2 separate regions of the Homo sapiens genome follow, and region 2 is linked to region 1. Evidence: promoter capture Hi-C in 16 types of primary human blood cells and fetal thymus (Javierre and others, 2016). All regions are on one chromosome and are shown on one strand. The core of a region is centred on a gene start or on the middle of the fragment in contact, and the rest is flanking DNA. Distances in the headings are between cores, read along the strand shown. Region 1 holds the start of TASP1 (taspase 1). Region 2 overlaps ESF1 (ESF1 nucleolar pre-rRNA processing protein).

What was found. Contacts are between HindIII fragments. The CHiCAGO score rates a contact against its expected background, and 5 or more counts as called.
Region 2: a fragment that was not itself captured here is called in contact with the fragment with the promoter of TASP1 in region 1 in 1 of 17 cell types (total B cells); the score reaches 6.1 in total B cells.

What each region holds. Positions count from the first base shown.
Region 1 is chr20:13,636,978-13,642,161 of GRCh38, forward strand. TASP1 (taspase 1) reads right to left here and starts at 1,955. Exons shown (of 14, transcript NM_017714.3): 1 at 1,917-1,955. RefSeq lists enhancers at 1,312-1,812, 1,426-1,515 and a silencer at 1,706-1,855. The HindIII fragment of the contact is 10,129 bases long and covers 1-3,078 here.
Region 2 is chr20:13,731,342-13,736,525 of GRCh38, forward strand. It overlaps ESF1 (ESF1 nucleolar pre-rRNA processing protein), which reads right to left. Exons shown (of 14, transcript NM_001276380.2): 10 at 2,380-2,501. Among named protein-coding and RNA genes, the nearest start is that of ESF1, 51 kb to the right of the region's middle. The HindIII fragment of the contact is 4,266 bases long and covers 497-4,762 here.

The DNA.
Region 1 (5,184 bases), core at 705-3,204:
ACGCAAGAAAATATTGCAAATCATGTATCTGGAAAGGGACTTACATTTAGAATATAGAAAGAACTCATACAACTTTAATATAAGACAATTCAATTTAAAAATGGGCAAAGGAATTAAATGGACATTTCTCCAAAGATATACAAAGGGTCAATAAGCACATTAAAAGATGCTCAACATTATTAGCCATCAGGGAAATGCAAATCAACACTACAATGAGCTACCACTTTATAAGCACTAAGACTGCTATAACCAAAAAGAAAGATAAGTGCTCCCAAGGATATGAAAAAATCAGAACCCTTATAACCTGCTGGTGGGAATGTAAAATGGTGCAACCAGTTTGGAAAACATTTGGCACTCACTCAAAAAGTTAAACATAGAGTTACCATATGCCCACCAATTCCACTTCTAGGTATATACTCAAGAGAACTGAAAACGTATGTCCATACAAAAACTTGTACACAGATGTTTATAGCAGAATTATTCAAAATAGCCAAAAAGTAGAAACAACCTAAATGTCCATCGACCGATGATGGTTAAGCAAAATGTGGCATATTCACACAATGGAACATTACCCATCCATAAAACAGAATGAAATACTGATACACAGACATTGATGAACCTTGAAAACATACTAACTGAAAGACACCAGACAAGTGAGGCCATATATTCTATGATTCCATTTATATGAAATGCCAGTATAGGAAAATCCATAGATACAGAAAGTAGATTAGTGGTTACAAGGCCTGGGAGAGAAAGCAGAGAATCTAATGGGGAGTGACTGTCATGAGTATAGGATTTCTTTTGGGGGTGATGAAAATGTTCTGAAAGTAGATAGTGGTGATGGGTGCACAACTTTGCGATATGAGAAAAAGCACTGAAATTTACAATTTTAAAGAATAAATTTTATGGTGCATGAATACCTTAATAAGACTTTCTCAAGAGGAAAAAAGACAATCTATCCGTGCAATGAACACAATGTATGTAACTATGCCTCTTAGTTATAACCGTATTTTACACGCATACATTATGATCACAAATAGGTTAATATGAATAAAATATTAGAAAAAAGATCAAAATGCTGGGTTGGCAGAACTATAGGTGATCTCTTCATAACTATTTCTGCATTTTCCAGATGTTCCTTAGTAAGCACTGCTTTTTGTAAGTGGTGGGGAAAAGTTTTATTTACAACAAAAAAGATAAATTATTAAACTCCTAAGAATATAAGTAAAAATTCCTTCGCTAATAAAGAATAATAATAATTCAGCAATCTAATGGCCCCTAACACACCTTTCCTTCCCCTCCCCTACAGAAGCCAGGAAAGTTGAACTCTCTCCTTCCGGAAACACGATACCCTCGATTTCCAGGACATCTCTAGCTCCTGCTTTCCCCCCCTCCTCTCCAGCTGCTCCATCTTCTCGGTCCTTTCCTCCTCCTCTTCTTCCTCCTCCTCCTCCCCCTGAGTAGTAAGTGCTAACGACCCGCAGGACTCTCATCAGGCCTCTATTACTAAGTAAGGGGCTGCCTTACCCCCAACCCGCCACCCAGGACAAGGCGCACATTCTCGGCTGTCTGCGAACCTCGGACTCTGAGACATCTCCAGCCTGAGACTGCAAAGTGGGTGAAGAACTGCGAGAACTCCCCACATACAGACAGTACTTCCCCGGTGGCCACGAGGACGCCAAGCCGGAGATGAGGCTGGGAAGGGGGACGACGGGGCCGCCTAGAGCGACCAAGACTAGGGAACTAGGGACATCCTGGCCCCCTCCTCTAGCCCCGCCCGGGGCAAGGGGTGTCCTGCGCGCCGCCCCCTCTCGGACCCGGAGAGGACGTCCCAGCTAGCGTACGGGGCCCACACACAGAGGCAGCAGCGCGGAGGCGGCAGCGGCGCGGACAGCGTGGGAAAGAGGGACACTCACCCGCTTCAGCCCCGAGCCTTCACTGCACCGGAAGTAGTCACCCGCCCGTTGCCAGGGTGAGGAAGCGGGGCTGACATCAAGTCTCCCCATTGGTCATTCGGGGTACCACGTGGTCGGAAGCAGCCTCCCACAAGCGGCTCTGACTCCGCCCTCCGCTTCGGAGCGGCTCACCTGGCCTCAGAGGTGCAGCGCTAACTCCACCTGGGGCTTCGTTCTGAGCTGCGCATGCGCTATTGCTTATCTCTACCCACCCCGCCCCTGAATAAGCCCGCAGGATGTGATTATATCTGAGTGGTTGATTGACTAATACTGTGATGAGAAATGAAATTAAACTGACCATCATTTTATCTAGGTGTCGCTTAAGAGTTACTTTCTTTCAATCCTTAGAGCACTGTTAGACGGTAGGGAAAACTAAGGTTCAGCCTGCATTGCTTGTAGGAGTTGGGGCACGAGCCTTGCCCAGGGGGAAGGAGTGTAGGCGGTCTTTTATCGGCTAGGATGTAAGACCGAAACCCAGTCATGGGTTTTGATGACCCATGACTGATGGATTTTCCTTATACTTCCACCAAAACATCACGTCGAACTGAATGTAAAGGCAGAAATGAGAATCTAACTGGCTTCTTTAAGCCAGCTATAGAGGAATTTACACTAATGCAAAAGATAACACTTTTCTTACCACATTTTTTTGTTTTTGGAAAATATTTATTCTTCATTAAAATGTCTTAATTATATTAACACATAATGGTTTATTATTGTTATTTTAAATAACTTTTTAACATTTCAGTTTTTTGTTGGTTTTTTTCTTTTTTTTTTGGAGATGGAGTTTCACTCTGTCAACCAGGCTGGAGTGCAATGGCACGATCTCGGCTCACTGCAACCTCTGCCTCCCGGGCTCAAGCGATTCTCCTGCCTCAGACTCCTGAGTAGCTGGGATTACAGGCGCTCGATACACACCCGACTAATTTTTTGTATTTTTAGTAGAGACGGGTTTTCACCATGTTTGCCATGCTGGTCTCGAACTCCTGACCTCAGGTGATCCTACTGCCTTGGCCTCCCAAAGTTCTGGGATTACTGGCGTGAGCCACCGCACCCAGCCACATTTCAGCTTTGTATTCAATTTTTAATATAGTAAATATTAATAGATGTAACCCACAGAAACAAAAGCTTTGGAGTGTTCTCTACTATTTTGGGGAGTATAAAGGTATGCTGAAACCAAAAAGTTCGAGAACCACTGATACCATTATTATAAATATAACCTATGTGGTTTTATTATGTAACTTGGGGCTTTTTTTCTTTCTCTTCTACCACTGACTTCTTAGGGAGGGGCAAGGGGAAGAAGTTTATTACATAGTAAGAATAACAGTTTATTACATAGCAATAGTAACTGAAACCGATTTTGTTACCTAGAAGTAGGATGGATATTATAACAAAACATAACATAATAACATCATAAAAGTAAAACGTGTGGCACTGGCTTTGGAACTAGGTGAAGCAGCAAGAGCAGGAAGGGATCCAAAGTATTAACAAGAGTCTAAAAGGACTTGAGGAAGCTGCCAATGAGGGCTTAAAGGGAGCTAAGGAAGATGTTATTGGAAGCTGGAGAAAATGGGGCCCTTGTTATATAGTGCCAGAAAGTTTGGCCCAGGCATTAGGAAGCAGACATAAACCATCCCCATTGTGACCTTTCTGAATTCCTCACCCGCAGAATCCATCAGCATAATAAAATAGTTGTTCTTTTGCACCTTTAAAGTGGATTTTTACACAGCAATATTAACTGGAACCAGCAGGAATAAAAGAAAGATGTTAAAGTTTTAAAAAGACATAGACATGCTCCCTTCCATTTCTTAGGCAACATTCTTCCTGGAATTTAACTACATTGTAATAATCATCTCCCAGTGCTGCTCTGTATACTTTTGTCTTGGGTATCACACCCAGATGCCACACAGGCCATCCTCTGGTAGGTGAATACTGCTCAAGTAAAAGTAACAAAATTCTTCGGACCCTTTTTTTTATTATTATTATTGAGGCAGAGTCTCACTCTGTTGCCCAGGCTAGAATGCAGTGGTGCGATCTCAGCTCACTGCAACCTCTGCCTCCCCGGTTCAAGTGATTCTCCTGCCTCAGCCTCCCCAGTGGCTGGGATTACAGGTGCCCGTGACCACGCCCGGCTAATTTTTGTCTTTTTAGTAAAGATGGGGTTTTGTCATGCTGGCCAGGCTGGTCTCGAGCTCCTGACCTTAGGTGATCCACCCATCTCGGCCTCCCAAAGTGCTGGGATTACAGGCATGAACCACCATGCCCAGCCCAGACCCAAGTTTTAACATTTTTAACCTGCATTGGGTACAGTAACAATGAGATCCTTTGAAATATTAATAACGAACAGTTGTAATATCTATTTGATTAACTCAACATGTTAAATTTGAAAGGAAAGTCTATACTAGTAAATCTCCTTCAGAAAAAATCTGGTTGCCTCCCTCTTCCTGTTCCCACCTCTCCCAAACCCGGAAAAGCAGCAAGCTGAGGAATTACTTCCTTTATCTCAAATAATCATGTCTGCTGCATCTTGATCTTTGTACTCTAAGTAAGCCCCCTCTGTCCTGGTTCCCTGGGGGTCTCCCTTTGTTTTGTATTCCTGGAAAACTATTGCTTTAACACATGTGTCAGAAATGTAGCAGAACAATAGTGATAGTTTTCAATTGTTGTGCCGCAAGTTAACACCAATTCACCTGCTTAAGACAACACAAATGTAATATTTCCGTTTCTGTGGATCAGGTGTCCAGGTCTCTGCTCAGATCTCAGAAGGCTGAAATCAAGGTGTCAGTCAGAGCTGCCATCTCATCGGATGCCCAGAGCGATTCTCCAAGCTCATTCAGGTGATTGGCAGAATTCAAATCCTTGCAGCTGTAGAGCTGGCCACTTTTGTCTTCTTCAAGGTCAGGAGGAGCAGTCCTCTCTGACTTTTCCACCTTGAAAGGACTCAACTGATTAGGTCAGGTCCCCCAGGATAATCTCTCCTTTGATGAACACAGAGTCAATGATTCGTCGTCAAGTTTCAGGAGGGATGGCCATCATATTCTCAGCTTCCATCCACACTCCAGGGGAGAGGATCATACAGGGTCTGTGCACCAGGGGTAGAAATCTTGCAGGTCATCTTAGAATTTTGCCTACCACGTGGAAAAAAGAAAGTTTCAATTATAGATGGACTGCGACAACCCTTCAAGCAGTCCTATGGTAGACAACAGTTGTTTCGCCTGCCCAGCATGAATTC
Region 2 (5,184 bases), core at 1,380-3,879, 95 kb after region 1:
TAACATGGTGAAACCCCGCCTCTACTAAAAATACAACAAAATTAGCCGGGTGTGGTGGCGGGCGCCTGTAGTCCCAGCTACTCGGGAGGCTGAGGCAGGAGAATGGTGTGAACCCGGGAGGTGGAGCTTGCAGTGAGCCGAGATCAGGCCACTGGACTCCAGCCTGGGCGACAGAGCGAGACTCGGTCTCAAAAAAAAAAAAAAAAAAAAAAAGATATTTTACTGCCTACTGAGTTTGAAAAGGAGTTCTAGGGAAGAAGAGAGTTAGTTAGCACATCAATGGGAGCAGGGCTCTTACCCCACGTGGTGTTACATATATATTATTTTCATACATGGTTTCTGGCTCATAAGTTCCTTAGCCCTTGCTATAGTCTTTTGTGTTCGGTCTTAAGGGCAGGACTGTACTCTTCCCTCACCTTTCTAATTGTGCATCTTAAGACCTTCCCCAGAGAGGGTCCTGCCCTGTAGTTGTGGGGAAGGAATGCTGGCATCATGAAGCTTCCATAAAAACCCGAGAAACGAGTTCACAGAGCTTCTGGATAGCTGGACACATGGAGGTTCCTGGAGGGTGGAGCGCCCAGGGAGGCATGGAAGCTCCACAGCCCTTCCCCCATACCTTACCCTATTTCCTCTGTATCCTTTGTAATATCCTTTATGATAAACCAGCAAATGTGTGTAAATGTTTCCCTAAGGTCTGTGGCCACTCCAGCAAATTAATTGAACCTAAAGAGGGGGTCGTGGGAACCCCAACTTGAAGCCAGTCAATCAGAAGTTCTGGATGTCCAGACTTCAGACTGGTGTCTGAAAGGGTGGAGGCAGTCTTGGGGACCGAGCCCCCAATCTATGGGATCTGACACTATCTCCAGGTAGTGTTGGAATTGGAGGTCACCCAGCCGGTGTCCACTGGTTAGTGTGTGGAGAAAACTCCCTACCCATTTGGTCACAGAAGTCTTCTTCTGTGTTGATAGTTGTAGTGTGACAGCAGAGGAAAAACAAAGTCAGAAAGAGTTTTTCCCAAAACACCCAATTTCTCCATTTTACTATCCATTTCCACAAACACTGACTACAATAGAAGTATAAAAATTACTCCACTGCATCATTCAGCTTTGCATCTCTCTACCCGTCACAGCACTAAAAGTCAAAGCTATACCAAAAGCATTATAAGAACACACAGTATAGAAACAGTATAGTGGGGAACAGAAGAAAGAACACTGGTCTGAGTAACTGTGGATTCTGGTCTCAGCTTGGCCACTGGTATGCTATGTAACCTCAGACTAATCAGCTAATTTTTTTTACAACTATAAAACAGGGCTGGACTAGAATTAATAATTTTAAGATTCCCCAAGCTGCAAAATTTTGTCATTATCAGTAATAACGCTCTAAGGCACACCACTTCCAGAATGCTGCATTTCAGTCACAAGAGCACTTTTAGTGGCAAAAACCTAAGTGATCTGTACTATTACTGAGGACTCTGGAAAACTCTGGAAAAGATGCTATTCCCTGAACAACATGAGTCAAATCATATTGTCCACAGAAACCACATTAACACAGAGGAAATACTCTTATTTATTTATTTATTTATTTATTTATTTATTTATTTATTGAGACAGAGTCTTGCCCTGTCGCCCAGGCTGGAGTGCAGTGGCACGATCTTGACTCACTGTACCTCTGCCTCCTGGGTTCAAGCGATTCTCCTAATTCAGCCTCCCAAGTAGCTGGGATTACAGGTGCGCGCCACCACATCCACCTAATTTTTGCATTTTTAGTAGAGGCAGGGTTTCGCCATGTTGGCCAAGCTGGTCTTGAATTCCTGACCTCAGGTGATCCACCTGCCTTGGCCTCCCAAAGTGCACGGATTACAGGCATAAGCCACCACACCCAGCCAGGAAATACTCTTGATAAAGGAATTTAATGACAATAAGGTGACAGATGAGCCATAAGATAATACTGTAAGGTGAAAATGCAGGTTGACAGATGGAAAGTATGGCATAATTTCACTCATGTTAAAAACCTCTATGTGCATATATCCTCAAGGAAAAATGTCTGTATGTACCTCTTTTGCTCAGAAACACAGAACAGAATCATACTGCTTATATCTAGATATTAACTATGTGTTTTACGTAGGTGGCATGTAAATGTAAAATGTCAGAATGCAGCAGTTGAAGTGGCTCTGGACTGTGACCAGGCTTTGTACACCATTATGTGGCCATGATGAAAAAACTTTCTGCATTCTCACTTTCCTCTTTCTTAAAATTGGGATGATAACAAGGCCTACTTCAGTGAGTGGTTACATTTTGAGATAATGGATTCCAAGCACCTGGTACCATCTGATATATGGTTGGTATTCAACAAACATTTGGTCATAATTATCAATGATACCTTCTGTTTCCTTTTCAGTCTTTTTTTCTCTTTCTTCTTCTCTAAAAATTGTTCCCAAGGGGTCAGTTTATCCTTTCCTTCCAATTTGTTTTTGACCATCTCTTCTGCACTTTCTTTAAGACCTGAGGAAAAATCCAAATAGTTTAGCTTAAAATGTCTTATTGTCTGGCAATCACTTAAACATATAATTTATAAAGACAAATATAATTTATGCATATTTAATAGAGTAACAAAGATAACATGCAATGGTAAATATCTGTAATACCCCAATATCATACAGTGACATAGGACCAACTTCTATAAAAGTTATTTCCTAATAACAAACAACAATAACCTAACCAAACAAAATCAAAACAAACCAACAAACAAACCTAGCAACTTGATACATGGTCAAGCCACTAAAGAAAAATACTGTATTTAGGCTCAGCCTTCATTTCTCTAAACTTTTCTGTTTTGAGATGCTAAGAAAACTTCTGAACTAATTCTTCTCAGGATACTAATTAATTTTTGTAGCAAAAGACAAGTGGCTTTTCTTGTCTTTAATTATCCCCACTTGCTTCTGTCATCCAAGTGAAAGCCTATGTTCTCTGCAAACTACAGGTTTTGAACAAAAATTGTTTAGTAAGGAATCCCTGTTGAAATATCCCATGAGCAAAGGATTCTCAATCTTTTCTCAAGCATTCTGTGAGGCCTCATAGAAAAGATCAGAAGGACCACCAAGTTCAGATTCCATTTCATCATATGGTTTAGCTCTTTCAATGCTGCTATTTGCTCTTATATTTCATCTCAAAAGGTCTTTCTTCCTATAGTCTGCTGTTCCCGATTCACGTTTCTAGGTATCTTATGCAATAACTAGAGGGGGTAACAAGGTGGGAGAAAAAGCCCTAAGGCTGATCTATCCATTTACAAAGACCCTCATTATTGCCAAAGTAAAGGAAATGTAAATACTGTGCTGTCCCCTTTGATAATAAAGATGTTTTTTATTTTGTAGTAGTGTTTAGAGGACATAGTTGGGTGGATCTTTAAATATTTAGATGACACAAAATTCATTAAAAAAAGAGACATCATCAAACCAGATCATCTTCTCAGATACATTCTAAATTCTAAGAAAGTAGAAACGATACTAAATACAGTTCTCTTTTGTTGATGAGTATATACAGACTGAGAACATTTAGCAATTTGTCTAAGAACATGGAGGTAGGAAGCTGCACAGCTAAATTTTGAATTCCTGGTCATCCTCTCTTCTATTATCAGATACATCTAAAATGCTAGTTTGACCTACAGAATGAAGAAATATATGGCCCAAGAATAAAATCTAAAACTTTGGGCCTCTGGTTCCTTATCTGCAAAATGAATGGTTTAGATCAGAAGTATGCAACCCTTTCCTCCCACGTGCACTGATTTCCCCCCCTCAAAACATTTGGTAAAAGTAAAAATATATAAAACAACTAAAAACACTGCTTTTGGGCCTTGAGCTTCAACCAACAGTTTGAAACAGCTGAAACAGATCTCTAAGACCTTCCTTGGTTTTTAACCCAAGAATTAATCTCCAAATTTCTATAGCTTAGAAAAGTATTAATGTTAACCTATATGCACACTCAAGGTAACACAGATTTGTTTTTATGACATACTGCTGTTAGGATCTCTAACTTACAGGATGCCAAATCAGAACACAATTCTCAATTCAAAAATGTTTCTTATGAGAAAAACATAATTCATTTAGTAAACAGTTTTCAGGAGAAATGTGTAATATAAAACCATGTTTAGATCTCTGATTCAACAGATAAACAGCACCTAAGAAATGTAAACTGGGATGTTCATTTGAGAGAAAGCAGCAAATTCTGATAAAACAAGTTGATTTCAAAGAACAAAATAATTTATGTATTCTGCCCATAGGTCAGCACACAATCAGTTCAGTCTAAAATTTTAAATGTACAGTGTTGTATTATTACATGATGTTTAAATAATACTCTTTGAAGTATTCTACTATAATTTCCTCATGCATTAAGATTGTATTACTTCAAAATACTAAACTAATATAGAAATTTTTTCACCAAAAAAGTTATTTTCTGATTTTGATCCAAGCTCTACTTCTGAATCACCATGATGCTAAGGAGGGTTCTATGTTGTTGTCTCTTAGGTGACTAGAGGACTGGGTTGATGTGTCTCAACCTTTTTTGGAGGGATGGATAGCATGAGATTTTGATAAAAGTTATGGACTCTAACACTGTACTGGAAAAACTTGCATCCAATGTTCAGGAGGTTTATGACTATCCAAAGATCATCTCTGTGTAATGATCCAAGAGCTTAAGGTAAAGAACATTTATAGGAGCTGAAGAGGTCTAGCCTGGGGGAAGATGAAAGTCCATTCCTGTAACTTTGAAGCTTAACAGCATTGACATTTGTAGGTTCTACATCAGGTTTTCTCAATTTCAGTATTATTGTTATTTTGGACCAGATAATTCTTTGTTGTGACGGGCTATCCTGTGCACTGGAAGTTATTCAGCAATATCTCTGGTTATCCACTAGATGCTAGTAACTCCAGGTGTAATAATAAAAAATGTCTCCAGACATTGCCAAATATCCTCTTGGGGGGCAAAATTACCTCTAGCTAAGAATCACTGTTCTAGACAATCATTAAAAATCATTTCTAAAAAAAAGGGCTATGTCAATATTTGAACCACATAAGTGATGGTATTTTACTTGGTGCTTGATTATATGTCTTCCCAATTTATAAGTTTCATCTGAGCAGTCCTTTCTTCTAACTAGACCAAAAGCAGCTTAAAGTCACCTTCTTTAGTATTT